Linked DNA regions of Homo sapiens: regions 2, 3 and 4 are each linked to region 1. Evidence: promoter capture Hi-C in 16 types of primary human blood cells and fetal thymus (Javierre and others, 2016). All regions are on one chromosome and are shown on one strand. The core of a region is centred on a gene start or on the middle of the fragment in contact, and the rest is flanking DNA. Distances in the headings are between cores, read along the strand shown.

The links. The method cuts DNA at HindIII sites, captures the fragments that hold promoters and counts their contacts. A CHiCAGO score of 5 or more calls a contact.
Region 2: a fragment that was not itself captured here is called in contact with the fragment with the promoter of SMNDC1 in region 1 in 4 of 17 cell types (activated CD4 T cells, monocytes, fetal thymus and 1 more); the score reaches 6.9 in activated CD4 T cells.
Region 3: a fragment that was not itself captured here is called in contact with the fragment with the promoter of SMNDC1 in region 1 in 5 of 17 cell types (naive B cells, M1 macrophages, M2 macrophages and 2 more); the score reaches 7.4 in naive B cells.
Region 4: a contact is called between a fragment that was not itself captured here and the fragment with the promoter of SMNDC1 in region 1, in 14 of 17 cell types (fetal thymus, M1 macrophages, M2 macrophages and 11 more). The highest score is 17.9, in fetal thymus.

Annotation. Positions count from the first base shown.
Region 1 is chr10:110,302,914-110,306,229 of GRCh38, forward strand. It overlaps SMNDC1 (survival motor neuron domain containing 1), which reads right to left and starts at 2,007. Exons shown (of 6, transcript NM_005871.4): 1 at 1,835-2,007; 2 at 555-674. The coding sequence starts at 674. RefSeq lists a silencer at 1,519-1,838. The HindIII fragment of the contact is 6,895 bases long and covers 1-3,316 here.
Region 2 is chr10:110,976,956-110,980,129 of GRCh38, forward strand. All of the region lies in intron 2 of SHOC2 (SHOC2 leucine rich repeat scaffold protein), which reads left to right. Among named protein-coding and RNA genes, the nearest start is that of MIR548E, 10 kb to the right of the region's middle. The HindIII fragment of the contact is 1,198 bases long and covers 748-1,945 here.
Region 3 is chr10:110,823,113-110,826,561 of GRCh38, forward strand. RBM20 (RNA binding motif protein 20) reads left to right here. Exons shown (of 14, transcript NM_001134363.3): 12 at 368-502. Among named protein-coding and RNA genes, the nearest start is that of PDCD4-AS1, 46 kb to the right of the region's middle. The HindIII fragment of the contact is 2,687 bases long and covers 1-2,636 here.
Region 4 is chr10:110,856,491-110,859,612 of GRCh38, forward strand. It overlaps LOC124902499 (a long non-coding RNA gene), which reads right to left and starts at 2,367. Exons shown (of 2, transcript XR_007062287.1): 1 at 2,146-2,367. RefSeq lists a cis regulatory region at 1,095-1,464 and enhancers at 1,300-1,429, 1,470-1,599, 2,885-3,122. The HindIII fragment of the contact is 844 bases long and covers 1,219-2,062 here.

The DNA of each region.
Region 1 (3,316 bases), core at 757-3,256:
AAACCTAGCCTTAAGTCTGAACATCTATGTAACAATTATACAAAGCACTTGTCTCTCTTTAGGCATTTTTGTGGTGTGTTTTCAATACAAAATGTAATCCACTAGCTTTGGGGAAAAAAAAAAGGCACGCATTTTCAAAGAATCTTGTGGTATTAAAAAGAATCTTAAGGTTCTATTTTTCTCCTTCAATCTTTGTTACTTTTTGAACTAAATTTCATTTGCCAGGTCTTAAAAACTAAAAGCGTTTTTCATTGTGAAGTTACATGTACCTCTCGTCTTGAAAATCTGACAGACTTGGAAATTTCTATCAACTTTAGTTTTTAAAAATTATGTAAGCACACAAGATTTATATAACAAAGAACAATATTTCACTCTGATGTACAGAAACCTGAGAACTGGGGAAGCAACCCTACTTCTACAAGCAATGGTACCTACAGAATTTACATATATACATAGGGTGGGGTGTAACCCCTCAAAAGGCGCTTTGGGTACTTAGGGATTCAAGCAATAATTTGAAAAACAGAGAAAAAGTACAATTGTCTACCCATACTTACTTGTAAATCTTTCTTCAATTTTAGCAAATCTTCATTTTCTCCATTTCCAGATAATGCAGCTTCAACTTGCTGGAGCTGAGCTTTGTAGCTTGCCAGCTGCTTTGCTAAATCCTCTGACATCTAGGGAAAATAAAAAGGGTTAGACCATGAAAACTAAACCAAAAATCAAGGCATAAAAAACTAACTCCCCTGTCTGCCTGAATTACCAGTTTTTGCCTCTAACTCCTTCTAACACTGCAGCTTAATTTACCACCATTACCTTTACTCTCAGTTTAGACTTCAGCTAAACCACAAACTTAAAGGCAACAGATTCTGAGGATTATAAACTTGAGATACATTCCATACTTTAAAAAAGCATACAGATACAAAGAAATTTCTAATTTTCTTTTAACTCCTATCCACAGGGTAGGTGCTGAATTCGGCTCAATAATCAGTGTTATCTTTTTAAAAAGCACTACTCTGTTGGAAAAGTCGAAACTTTCAAAAACAATCCAAATACTTATTTTTAAGCACTACAGTATGCTTCCAAAGCCAAACAAGTGCGTTTTTAAATTAACTACACAAACTACGATCTTTACTTGAACTATTCAATTAAGAGTGTATTTAAAAGTGCCTCTCCAAAACAAAAATCTTTCGCCCAGTCGCTTAAATATTTATCGGTGCATTATCTTCAGCAAAAAGAACAGCACAGGTACTCTCCCATTTAGGCATTCTAACGAATGTGCCTTTCGCCAAATCCAGCTCAGTCATTTTCCTGAAAATAAGATACCAATTAACCTTTTTTGATGGTTTATAAGCAAATGTACCACGTTTCCGAGGACCCTTCTCCTTCGTAAAATTCCCGTCCAACCAAAGGCTGGGAGCCTGCAAAGGCCCCCTAAGAGTTACAGCGACCCAGGCTGCTCTCCTCCCCGCCACGCAGCACCTCAAAGCCCGCCACAACTCGATCATTCGGACGTGGAAATCCACACGCCAGCTCCAAGACCACCGCCGGAGCCCCGCCGCGCTCCAACAGGCAGGCTCCACAGGGAGCCGCGCGGCGCCCAGCCCCACCCGACCCGGTCCCCTGCGGGCCGTGTTTGCCGCCGCCGCACGGAGGCCAGCGCCGGCCGGGCCGCCGAGGCTCAGCTCTGGCTGAGAGACGGCCGTGGCTCCGGGATCCAGGGCCAGCGCCTGGGCGTCTCCGGCGAGGCGGGCTCCTCAGCCTTGGGCCTCCGCTTCACCTCGGGAGGGACCCGGGCCCGGCCAGGCCTTACTCTCTCCCTCAGGGGGGTTGTTACCTTGTGTGGGGCTGGGGGCGGGGCGGCGGGAAGGGGTCGGGGCAAATGAGCCCAGTGGTAGTGGCGGTGGCAGCAGCAGCAGTAGCAGTAGCAGGAAAATCACCGCGACGACAGCAAGGCGACCCGGTCTGAAAAGGAAGAACTCGGTCGGCGGCGAGGGGGAAGGGAGGAACGCCGGGCACTGGAAGGAGGAAAAGACAGAGACGGTGAAGTCTCGCGAGAAATACAAACTCTCGCGCGAGGTCGCTCGACTCACGTGACTCCGCGCGCCCTCTAGCCAGTCCCTGGCTGTCAGGGACACGAAGTAGGCGGGGCCTAGGAAGGAAATGGCGTAGCTGGGCTTCGCCAGGCGCGGAATGCAGGTTATCTTCCTGGAGTTCCGGCTTGGAATTTATTGGAAATGCAAATTCTCAAGCCCCACCCCAGACCTCCTGAATCCAGAGACTCTTGTTTTAATAAGCTCACCAGATGATACCAATGTCCGCTGACGTTTGAGAACCACTGCTTTTCCGGGGCGGTGGTGGTGGGTGGCGGGGGGTGTTGGTGGGGGCTCTCTTTACGTTGCCCTGGCTGGTCTCCAGCTCCTGGGCTCAAGCTATCCTCCTGCATCGGCATCCCAAAATGCTAGGATTACAGGCGTGAGCCACCGCGCCCAGCCTGAGAACCACTACTTTATATGATACAAGCCTTAGTAGTAACAGAAAGCTAATTAAATCGTGACAGAAATAACCTATTGGAGAGAAGATTGATTTCTTTAAAATCTGTTTTGTTAAAACCTACTTGGTTTTAATTTAGTTGGGTTAATCTCGCCTGATAGGGAACAACGTCCAAGTTAGTCTAGAATGGTAAAGAGTGGTAGGAATACTCACATTTGTGTTCAAAAAGAAATGCCCCTTGTGTATGTTTGTAATAATATATACGCTTTCTGGACGGATACACAAAACTGTTCAGAGGTTTGGAGTGGAAGCCAAATGTTTTATTGATTACCCTCTTTGCTGTTTACCCTTTTTCCTTTTCTTTTTTTTTTAAACCATATATATATAATTTATTTCAATTAAAAAAGCAATAAAGGCCTGAGACACAAAGTTTTATATAGATGACAGGAAGCAACCTTTCCTGGGAGGTTGGGAGTTTGTTGCTGGATCCATAAAAAGGCCCACTTCTCGCGGATCACCTGAGGTCAGGAGTTCGAGACCAGCTCGACCACGTGGAGAAACCCCGTCTCTACTAAAAATACAAAAAAAAAAAACCAACAACAACAACAACAACAAAAAGCCGAGCATGTTGGTGCATTCCTGTAATCCCAGCTGCTCGGGTGGCTGAGGCAGGAGAATCGCTTGAACCTGGAGGCGGCGGTTGCGGTGAGCCGAGATCGTGCCATTGCACTCCAGCCTGGGCAGCAAGAGTGAAACTCCGTCTCAAAAAAAAAAAAAAAGGCCCACTTCTCAGATGGGCTCTTTTGAACTGTGCCAACATCTTTAG
Region 2 (3,174 bases), core at 97-2,596, 670 kb after region 1:
TAGATAATTTTATTGCTATTTTTTTGTTGTTGCTGTATATCATTTCTTCTTCAGTGTCTAAATCTTACTGTTCTATACAATGAAGTTTTCATACCAGGTATTTTATTTCTCACCTCTATACATTCCATTGGGTGTCATTTTTATTCAAGTTTTCTTTACCTTGAACATATGGAGCTCATTGTTTAACAGCTTTTTCACTGTCCTTGTCTTATAGTTTCCTCTTTTATTTTTGTTTTTGTTGCTACAGAATGATTTTTCTCCTGGTTGTGGGTCATATTTTCCTGCTTCTTTGCATGTCTGGTAATTTTTTTTTGAGACAGAGTTTTGCTCTTGTTGCCCAGGCTGGAGTGCAATGGTGTGATCTCGGCCCACCGCAGTCTCTGCCTTCTGGGTTCAAGCGATTCTCCTGCCTCCCGAGTAGCTGAGATTAGAAGCATGCACCACCACACCCGGCTAATTTTGTGTTTTTAGTAGAGATGGGGTTTCTCCATGTTGGTCAGGCTGGTCTCAAACTCCCAACCTCAGGTGATCCGCCCGCCTCAGCCTCCCAAAGTGCTGGGATTACAGGCGTGAGCCACCGTACCCATCCTGCATGTTTAGTAATTTTTAATTGGATGTGAGCTTCATAACATTTTCACATTGTTGAGTCTTGGATTTTGTTGTATTCTTTTAATAGTGCTGGACTTTGTTCTGGCATACAGTTAAATTTTTCTGTAGTCAGTTTAATCCTTTCGTGGCTTGCTTTTAAGCTTTGTTATGGTAGTTTTAGTAGCCTTTTGTCTACATCTAATTTAACCCCACTACTAAGGTAATAAATTTTGATGACTCCCTGATAAACTATATATTATGAGGTCTTTTTGTGGCTGGTAGGAATTCACACTATTCACAACCTTGTGTGACTGCTGGGAATTGTTTGGGTTGCTGCTGCTAGGTCTTTGCCTAGCCTTTGGTAGTCTGTTTGTACCTAATGCAGATAAGAATTTAGGCAAACACTGCATAAGACTTTCTTGCAGATTGCACAAATCTATTTGCTGCTCTCTTCTGTCTCCAGTTCTGCCTCCCAAATTCTAACCATCTTGGCTTTCCTAGACTAAAATCGTTTGCCCTAACTTAGTAATAACTATTGGCCCTTGTTCTATATTCCTTCCCTGCTTTTTCTGTGACCTGGAACCTGCCTCCAGGCAGTAACCTGGGGCAATCATGGGACTTCTGTTGTTTTCCTGTGATACAAGGGAATACAGTCATATATGGCTGTTGTCTGCAGTCTGCAAACCATTTTCTCAAACATTTTGTTCATTTTCTAGTTGCATCATGGTGGTAAATAGAAGACAGTCTAGTAATTCTTGATTGGCTAGTATAAATAGCTAATACTGTAACTCCTGTGGATTCCATTATCCTCTGAAAAGTGTTACATTTTGTTCTGCTAGGCGGTTAAATTGCTGTTGAGTCACCTTGACCGTAGAGACTTAGATTTAGCTCTTGTAAGGGTGATGCTATTTGGTTATAGCCTTAAACCTAGGGTAAATTCCTTAGTTTTGAGATGTGATCTTTACTCTCCTATGTTATAGCCCTTTTGGAATTTTGTTTATTACTCTCCAGCAACTTGACAAGACTGAAAATCCAAACTCTTAAAGACCACAGTTGGCAACTGTTGAAATCTCTGCTCAGCTCCTTTAGCCTTCTAGCTGTGGTTCTCCCCTTGGGCTCCTTGCAGTCTCCTCTCCCACATGTATTTTCGGAGTCAGCAAGAATTTGAGGAGTGTGTATTTGAAGATTTTAGGGCTCTGCTCTTTGTGATTTCCTCCTTTACAGAGTATCCAACCTTGAATTCCAGTCACTCTTATAACCCTGAACTCTGTCCTTTGGCTTCTTAGGCAGTAGGACTCTGGCCTTCGACTTGAGATTTACTTTTCACCTGCAGATTTTTTAGTTACTTCATGGTAAAAGCTTTATAAAAAGGCATTTATGAAAGTAAATCTCATGTGATTGCTGTATTAGTTATCTATTGTTGTGTAACAAATTACTCTAAAAGATAACTCTTATAACAACAATCATTTGTTATCTTATAGTTTCTTTGTTTTGGGTATCAGGCACAACTTAACTGGACCTTCTGATTTAGTGTCTCTCACAAGGTTTTTCAGTTATAGTGTTAGCCAGGGCTTGGGAAGACTCATCTGGGAAAGGATACACATCCCAACTCATGTAGTTTTTGTTAGGACTTAGTTCCTAGCAGGTTGCTGGAGAGAGGGCTTCAATTTCTTGCTGTTGGCTGGAGACTGCTCTTAGTTCCTTTTCACATGGGTCTTTTCAACATGGCAGCTTGCCTTATCAAAGCGTGTAAGCTAAGACATCAATAAAGTGCTAGCAAGGTGGAAGTCAGAATCTTTTGTAACTGAATCACAAATGTGACATCCCATCACCTTTGCCATATTCTGTTGGTAAGAAGCAAGTCACTAAGTTTAGCCCACACTCAAGGGGAGGGGTAATTATATAACGTATACAATTATTCATGAGGCAGGGCCATTGGGGGTTATCTTAGAAGTCTGCCTATTACAGTTCTCTTCTTTTAAGGGTAAATTCCCTCTAGTTTTAACTTTGGTCTCCCTGTATGCCTTTAAGTATTTTATCCACAGTTTTAAATTATCAACACGACTTCACCACCCTTAGCCAGAGCTCAGTGTTTGCAGATGTTAAATCCAGCTTTCTCTTAGGACAAAAATGTTCTACCATGATAACATTTTCTTCATCTTTTTCCCCCATAGTTAGCCACTAAATATTTTACGTAGATGTCTCACTGATATCTTAAATTCTTCATGACCAAACTGTAACTTCAGCTCAACTTTTCTTCCTTGTGGATTCCATTCCTCTCTCATAATTGCATCTTATCTTCTCTATCAACCCAAGCTCAGTATCTTCGGATCAGAGAATTTTGTTGTTGTTCTGATTCTAGTCAAGGTGTAGCCTACTCACTAGACAGGTACTGGGCCACCAACTGTTTGTTACTAGTTTGCCCAAATTAAGAACAGAAATTGAAAGTAAGCATTTAGAATCTTACATAACAATTTGACATTGCTGAGACATCCAAGTGTGTGAGTTTGTGTTTTAAATATTCATCTACAACCAGTTGGGAACAGCAAAAGACAAAGAACCAGGCCTTCACCATCTGTAGTCTGA
Region 3 (3,449 bases), core at 43-2,542, 520 kb after region 1:
GCACAATTTTTGCCCGTCAGTAATTCCTCTGCCTGCAGAGATGGAATGATACTGAGATGGGAGGCATGGGGGGTGGGGGGTGGATCTTCTCAACTGAAGGCATCAGCAGCCCATCCCCCTGGGCCAAATGCAAACATTTGCCAAGTTTTATTGTGTGTGGCATTCTTTTGGCAGTGGAAAAAGCTCCTAATGACAGTGCTTTGGTTCTAATTAGCAACCATTGCCCCAGCCTTATGTGATTAAGCAGTCCAAGGAACAATTCCCAATCATACTATGCAGGCATAGAATTTCAGGGACTCTTTGAGGCATGTTGTATTTCTTTTTTTTTTTTTTTTTTTTTTTTTTTGCCTTGGTTCATGTTTTGCAGAAAACTCCAGGTACGTGGAAATGAAATCTCTGGAGGTGAGGTCACCAGAGTACACTGAAGTGGAACTGAAACAGCCCCTTTCTTTGCCCTCTTGGGAACCAGAGGATGTGTTCAGTGAACTTAGCATTCCTCTAGGTAAGCAAAACACACAGTCTTTCCTGAAATTCAGGTCTAGGAAATAACAGTTCCATAGCAACCTCAAGAGCTTGAGAGAGCTTTTTGGCATTTTGTTGTTGACATCGTTTTTTGTTCTTTTGAGACAAGGTCTCACTCTGTCACCCAGGCTGCAGTGCAGTGGCATGATCTCAGCTCACTGCAGCCTCAAATTCCTGGGCTCAAGTGATCCTCCCACCTCAGCCTCCTGAGAAACTTGGACAACAGGTACACACCACCAGGCCCGGCTAATTTTTTTAATTTTTTTTTTTTTTGCAGAGATGGGGTCTCCATATGTGGCCCAGGCTGGTCTTCACCTCCTGGGCTTAAGTGATCCTCCTGCCTCAGCTTCCCAAAGTGCTGGGACTACAGGTGTGAGCCACTTCACCTGGCCGGCCTATCGTTATTTTAAGTGTATGATGCAATAACCTAGATTTGCAAGGGGCGGCTGTAAACTTTCTTGCAATTTCAGTCTCCCGTAATAGACCAGATACTCCGTGAAAACAGCCTTGAATAACAGTGCCCTGGGACCCAGAACTAAGAAGTCCTGTTTTTCCTGTCAGGGAATGCTTTATTCTTGATGACATGGAGTCTTTAAGCCTAGCCTTTATTCAGGCAGGAAAGCAGATGCCCAGCAGCCTCCATAAAGTCAACAAAAATGAACTTCGTCTGCTATTGTTCATTGCTCCAGTCCTTCCCAGAACAATGCTACATATTTTTTTCTCTTTAAAGGACCAACTTTTCTGAGGCAATGATGCTGAATAGAATGTGTTTGGGGCAGACTACCCCTAGTTCATAGAAAGGGTATTGAACAGGGAGACCTGGGTTTCTGTTCTTCCTACTTATGGGTGACTGTGTGCCCTCAGGTAAGTCATACCCCTTCTTGAGCCTTAGTTTCCTCTCTGTAATTTAGACAGCGATTTTTTCAATGGTGGAAGTGTTGGGAATGAAGTGGGGAGGGAGTTTACTGATGGAATCACCTAGGAATGAATCCCTTTTCAAAGAGAAGAGTTAAGCAGAGTCTCAGGGTAGGGAGTGAAGGCACTTTAAGAAAGTTCCCTGGGAGATTCTGACACAACCACTAACCCAGCAACTCCAGCCTACATCATCTTTGAGTCCCCTCGCATTAGCTCTGAAAGGTCGGAATTAGATAAAGTAGTAGTAGCAGCTGCTCAGAAGGAGAGCTCAGGAAAGTGTCACCTGGGAAAGTGTCACAAGGAAGCATAAAAAGCACGGGTCATCTGATGCCTGATGACCACGTGTCTGATCATGCAGGGAGGGGCTGGTCAGTGTGGAGGCTCGTCCTTTCCATCCAACTTGCTCTTTTTTTCCCTTCTCCTTTAAAAAAATCTCTTACTATTTCTTTCCTCCAGGTGTACCATTTTTATAGTCAGATCTGGAGAGCAAACTTCCTTTTTTTTTTAAGGGATAAATTTGCTGCACAGCATCTCCCAAGACAAAAACATAAGAAAGAAGGAAAAAGAAATACTAACTTTAGAATAAACTGAGATGACCCTGGGTATTTTAGCTCTAGAAAACAGTTGCAAAGGCCACCCTGCAGGAGAAGAGAGGGCTCCTTCATGCATTCAGTCAGTCAGCAAATACTTACTGGATAACATGGTACTGTGCTAGACACTCTGGGGTAACCAAGAAATATAACGCAAGTCTCTTGTCATCCAAGAACTTGGAACCTAATTGATACTAGCAAAAATTAAGAATAAATTCTGCTACCTTGTAATTTGTGTTTTACTACTGTTTTTCATTATAGAAAGTGTGAAAGATTATTGTAACAAATTCAAAAAATAAGAACCATATCAAGTCAATATTAAAGGTCTGATTGATCTCTTCCCTCCAGTCTCTCCCCAGTCTCCAGAGGTAGCCTACCACTGTCATGCCCAGTTTTTCTCTCACAAAAATGGGATCACACTACACACATAATGTTCTGCAAGTTCACTTAGTAGCAGGTCTTAGACATTTCTTCATGTCAGTACATAGAGAACACATTCTTTTTAACCACTGCAAATATTCCATCGTAAAAGCTATGCTATAAATGACTGATCTTTCCTCTGCTGGTGAACAGTTAGGCTGTCTGCTCTTTTTCCCATTTTAATAGCTAAGCTTTTATTGTTAACATTCCCCATGCAGGCACCATCCCTAGGGATCTGTATGTATTATCACATTTAACCCTCTCAAAACACCTATGAGGTAGGTGCTGTTTTTATCCTTATTTAACAGATAAAAAATCTGAAATGCAGAGTCACACAGCTAATAACTGGCAAAAACCAGAGTCAGGTTCAAATCCCAGTCATCTGACTCTAGAGCCATGTTCTTAGCTTCTGTTCTCTGCTGCCTTTCAGATGTGCTTGTTCAGTGGTATGTGTATGCCAGTGTTCCTGTGGGAGAGCGTCCTAGCCAGGGGGTTGTAGGGTGGTATGTATTTGCATTTTAAATTTTCATAATTGCTACTAAATTGCACTCCAAAAAGATGGTATCAGTTTTCCCTGCGACCTTGAGTGAGAGTTCCCAATATCCACCTCCCATTGGATTTTATCAGTTTTTAATCTTTCCTAACCAGTTAGGAAGAAAATAGTATCTCACCTTTTTAAAATTGGCTCTATTGAGTTATAATGGATATAAAGTAAGTGCATATCAAGTGCATAGTTTGATCAGTTTTGACCTATAAATATACCTGTGAGACCATCACCACAATCAAGACTGGGAACAATGTTCATCATATCCCAAATTTCCTGTCTCCTATGTAACCCCTCCCTCCCCACAGTGCAACCCCCAGGTAAAGGATCTCCTTTCTGTCACTAAATATTAGTTTGCATTTTCTAGAGTTTTATATAAAGGGAATCATATTGTATGTGCTAGTTTGGCTTCTTTTGCTCAACATCATTGAGATTCATCTGTACTGTTGGGTGGATCA
Region 4 (3,122 bases), core at 391-2,890, 550 kb after region 1:
TTAAAAAGTCAGGAAACAACAGGTGCTGGAGAGGATGTGGAGAAATAGGAACACTTTTACACTGTTGGTGGGACTGTAAACTAGTTCAACCATTGTGGAAGTCAGTGTGGCGATTCCTCAGGGATCTAGAACTAGAAATACCGTTTGACCCAGCCATCCCATTACTGGGTATATACCCAAATGACTATAAATCATACTGCTATAAAGACACATGCACACGTATGTTTATTGCGGCATTATTCACAATAGCAAAGACTTGGAACCAACCCAAATGTCCAACAATGATAGACTGGATTAAGAAAATGTGGCACATATACACCATGGAATACTATGCAGCCATAAAAAATGATGAGTTCATGTCCTTTGTAGGGACATGGATGAAATTGGAAGCCATCATTCTCAGTATACTATCGCAAGAACAAAAAACCAAACACCGCATATTCTCACTCATAGGTGGGAATTGAACAATGAGATCACATGGACACAGGAAGGGGAATATCACACTCTGGTCTGGGGACTGTGGTGGGGTGGGGGGAGGGGGAAGGGGGAAGGGATAGCATTGGGAGATATACCTAATGCTAGATGACGAGTTAGTGGGTGCAGCGCACCAGCATGGCACATGTATACATATGTAACTAACCTGCACAATGTGCACATGTACCCTAAAACTTAAAGTATAAAAAAAAAAAAAAGTTAAAAAAAAAAAAAAACAACCAAGAAAACACAGGCTCCAGGAGGAGCTCTAAGGGATTTTTATCTGAGTAAAGGGGATAGACTGATAAGAGAGGTCATTTCTTCTGCTCGTTCACAGGTCTTTTGAGATTTTCTTTGCTTTCACACTGATGTGGTTTTACTGCACTAGCTCCATTTTACGGATGGGGACATGGATGCCAATAAGACAAGATGACTCAGTCAAGGCCACATGGCAAGTGAGTGGGTGTCTTCCTCCATCCATGGCCCTGTCAGTTTTGGCTTGGATGAGCCAAGTGGTAGAAGCGTGACTGGGGCAAAGCTCACCAGCACCTCTCCTGGACTTTTCTTCAGAAGAGAGGGTCAGCAGTAGCCCCTCTGGGAGGTTTAAACAACTCCATGATACACCTGGATCCCTTCTGCTAATGCAGCAGGCCCCTTCATTTCCAGAAATTAGAGCTTGCCAAACAGCTGTGTTTACATTCAGAGCCGTAGTTTATCGCTGCTGGTCCTGGAAGGGATTGTTCAAGCTTATCTTCTCTAGATAGCAACGTGCTGAGGGTTGCACAATTCTGACCTAGATTGAAATCAGCTGCAAAACACCTAGTCCTGAACACACACACGCACACGTCTCAGGAGACTCAAGGCACTGCAACTCACTGACACATTCTCTCCTCAACAGGCCAACTCTCTCCCATAATCCTGGGACCTGGGCCAAGGCAAGGCGGTACGGCAGCAAAGGTCCCAGGGGACTTTGTTGAGGCAGGACTGTTTCCCTGAGCTGGGTGCCGGCCTCCTGCCCCATGTGCCTCATTCTCTTGTCTTTCATGCAGGGAGACAGCTGGGTGAGAGGGCACAGAGAAGAAAGACAGTAGGCATCATGCTGCAGAAGATTCAGGGCCAGAACAAAGGGCAGCCATTGACAGCTGCACATTTTATGCAAATCTTGAACGGTTTCATCCAGGGAACAAAACCCTTGTGAAAATGGTGGAAAAGGGCCCTTTCCCTTTTAGAAATTCTACGGTCTGACTACTCCAGATGGTAGAAGACTAACAAAAAGCTCCAGCCCCCATGGCTCTGATCTGCCCACTGCCTGGTCAGAAACCTTTAAGAGCTTTCAACAGTTGGCCCTATAAAGTCCAAACTCATTCAAGACTCTTTATGGACTGGCCACATCTTTAGCTCCCTCCCAGCCCAGAGTCACCCTCTGCCTGCTCTCAACCTTCCTGGTCTTTTATCTGTACCCCTCCTTGTGCACTTATCACTTTCCACTATGTACAATGGTTGTTTTTATGAGTCTTATCATTCCTGCTGGCCTAGTCTATCAGTTCCTTAAGGGCAGGGCCTATGCTTGTTTATCTTTGTACGTTGAAGCTTTAGTATGGTATGCATTATGGGGTGCCCAATAAAATTTATTGAATTAAACCAGGGACTCTCCCACAGGGATGAACTTACCTTGAGAAAGACATCTAAATTCCTCACTGAACCCAGGAGCAGGAAGGACACCTTCACCCCAGCCTGCATAGGAAGTGTTTCAGATAGTAATCTCAAGGTCATGTGGTCCAACTCTTCTATTTCAGGAGATGAAGAGACTGAGATCCAAGTGTTGGGCTAGGGACAGTAGATGTTATGAGTTTCATCTATAGGTGAGGGAGCTGAGGCTCTGGCAGCAGAAGTCACTTTCTCTTTTTTTTTTTTTTTTTTTTTTTTGTGATGGACTCTTGCTCTGTTGCCCAGGCTGGAGTGCAGTGAAATGATCTCAGCTCACTGTAACCTCTGCCTCCTAGATTCAAGCAATTCTCCTACCTCAGCCTCCTGAGTAGCTGGGATTACAGGCATGTGCCACCACGCCCAGCTAATTTTTGTATTTTTAGTAGAGACAAGGTTTCATCATGTTGGCCAGGCTGGTCTTGAACTCCTGACCTCATGATCCACCTGCCTCGGCCTCCCAAAATGTTGGGATTACAGGCATGAGGCACCGCGCCCGGCTAGAAGCCACTTTCCTAATGTCAGGAAGGTAGAAGGTGGTAGATTTAAAGGGATTTAAAGCAGGGTCTGCCTGACTCAGAAGCTTATTTTCTGTTGTGAAGGAGCCCACCTACAGCCTCCGCCCCTGAACATCCAGCTGCCCTGCTGGTTTCCCAGAACAGGACTCTGTCTGGCCAAGCCCTGGGGCTGGTTGGACACTGAGGTAGGCAGCACCTGGCTTGGGTGCATTTGGAGCTCCATGGCTGGAGAAGCTGTTTATGAACTCTGCCCATCCAAGGCCTGGCAGCACAGCTACCCCAGCTGGGTCTTTTCACAGAAGGCCTGTCGGGCAGGTCCTAGAACATCACACAGAGCCTTTGTCCAGAAGGCATGGTGTTTTCCAGTGAGAAGTTTGCATTGCCTACACTGGCAGGAGGCAAGGGAAGTGGAGACCACCAGCCTTT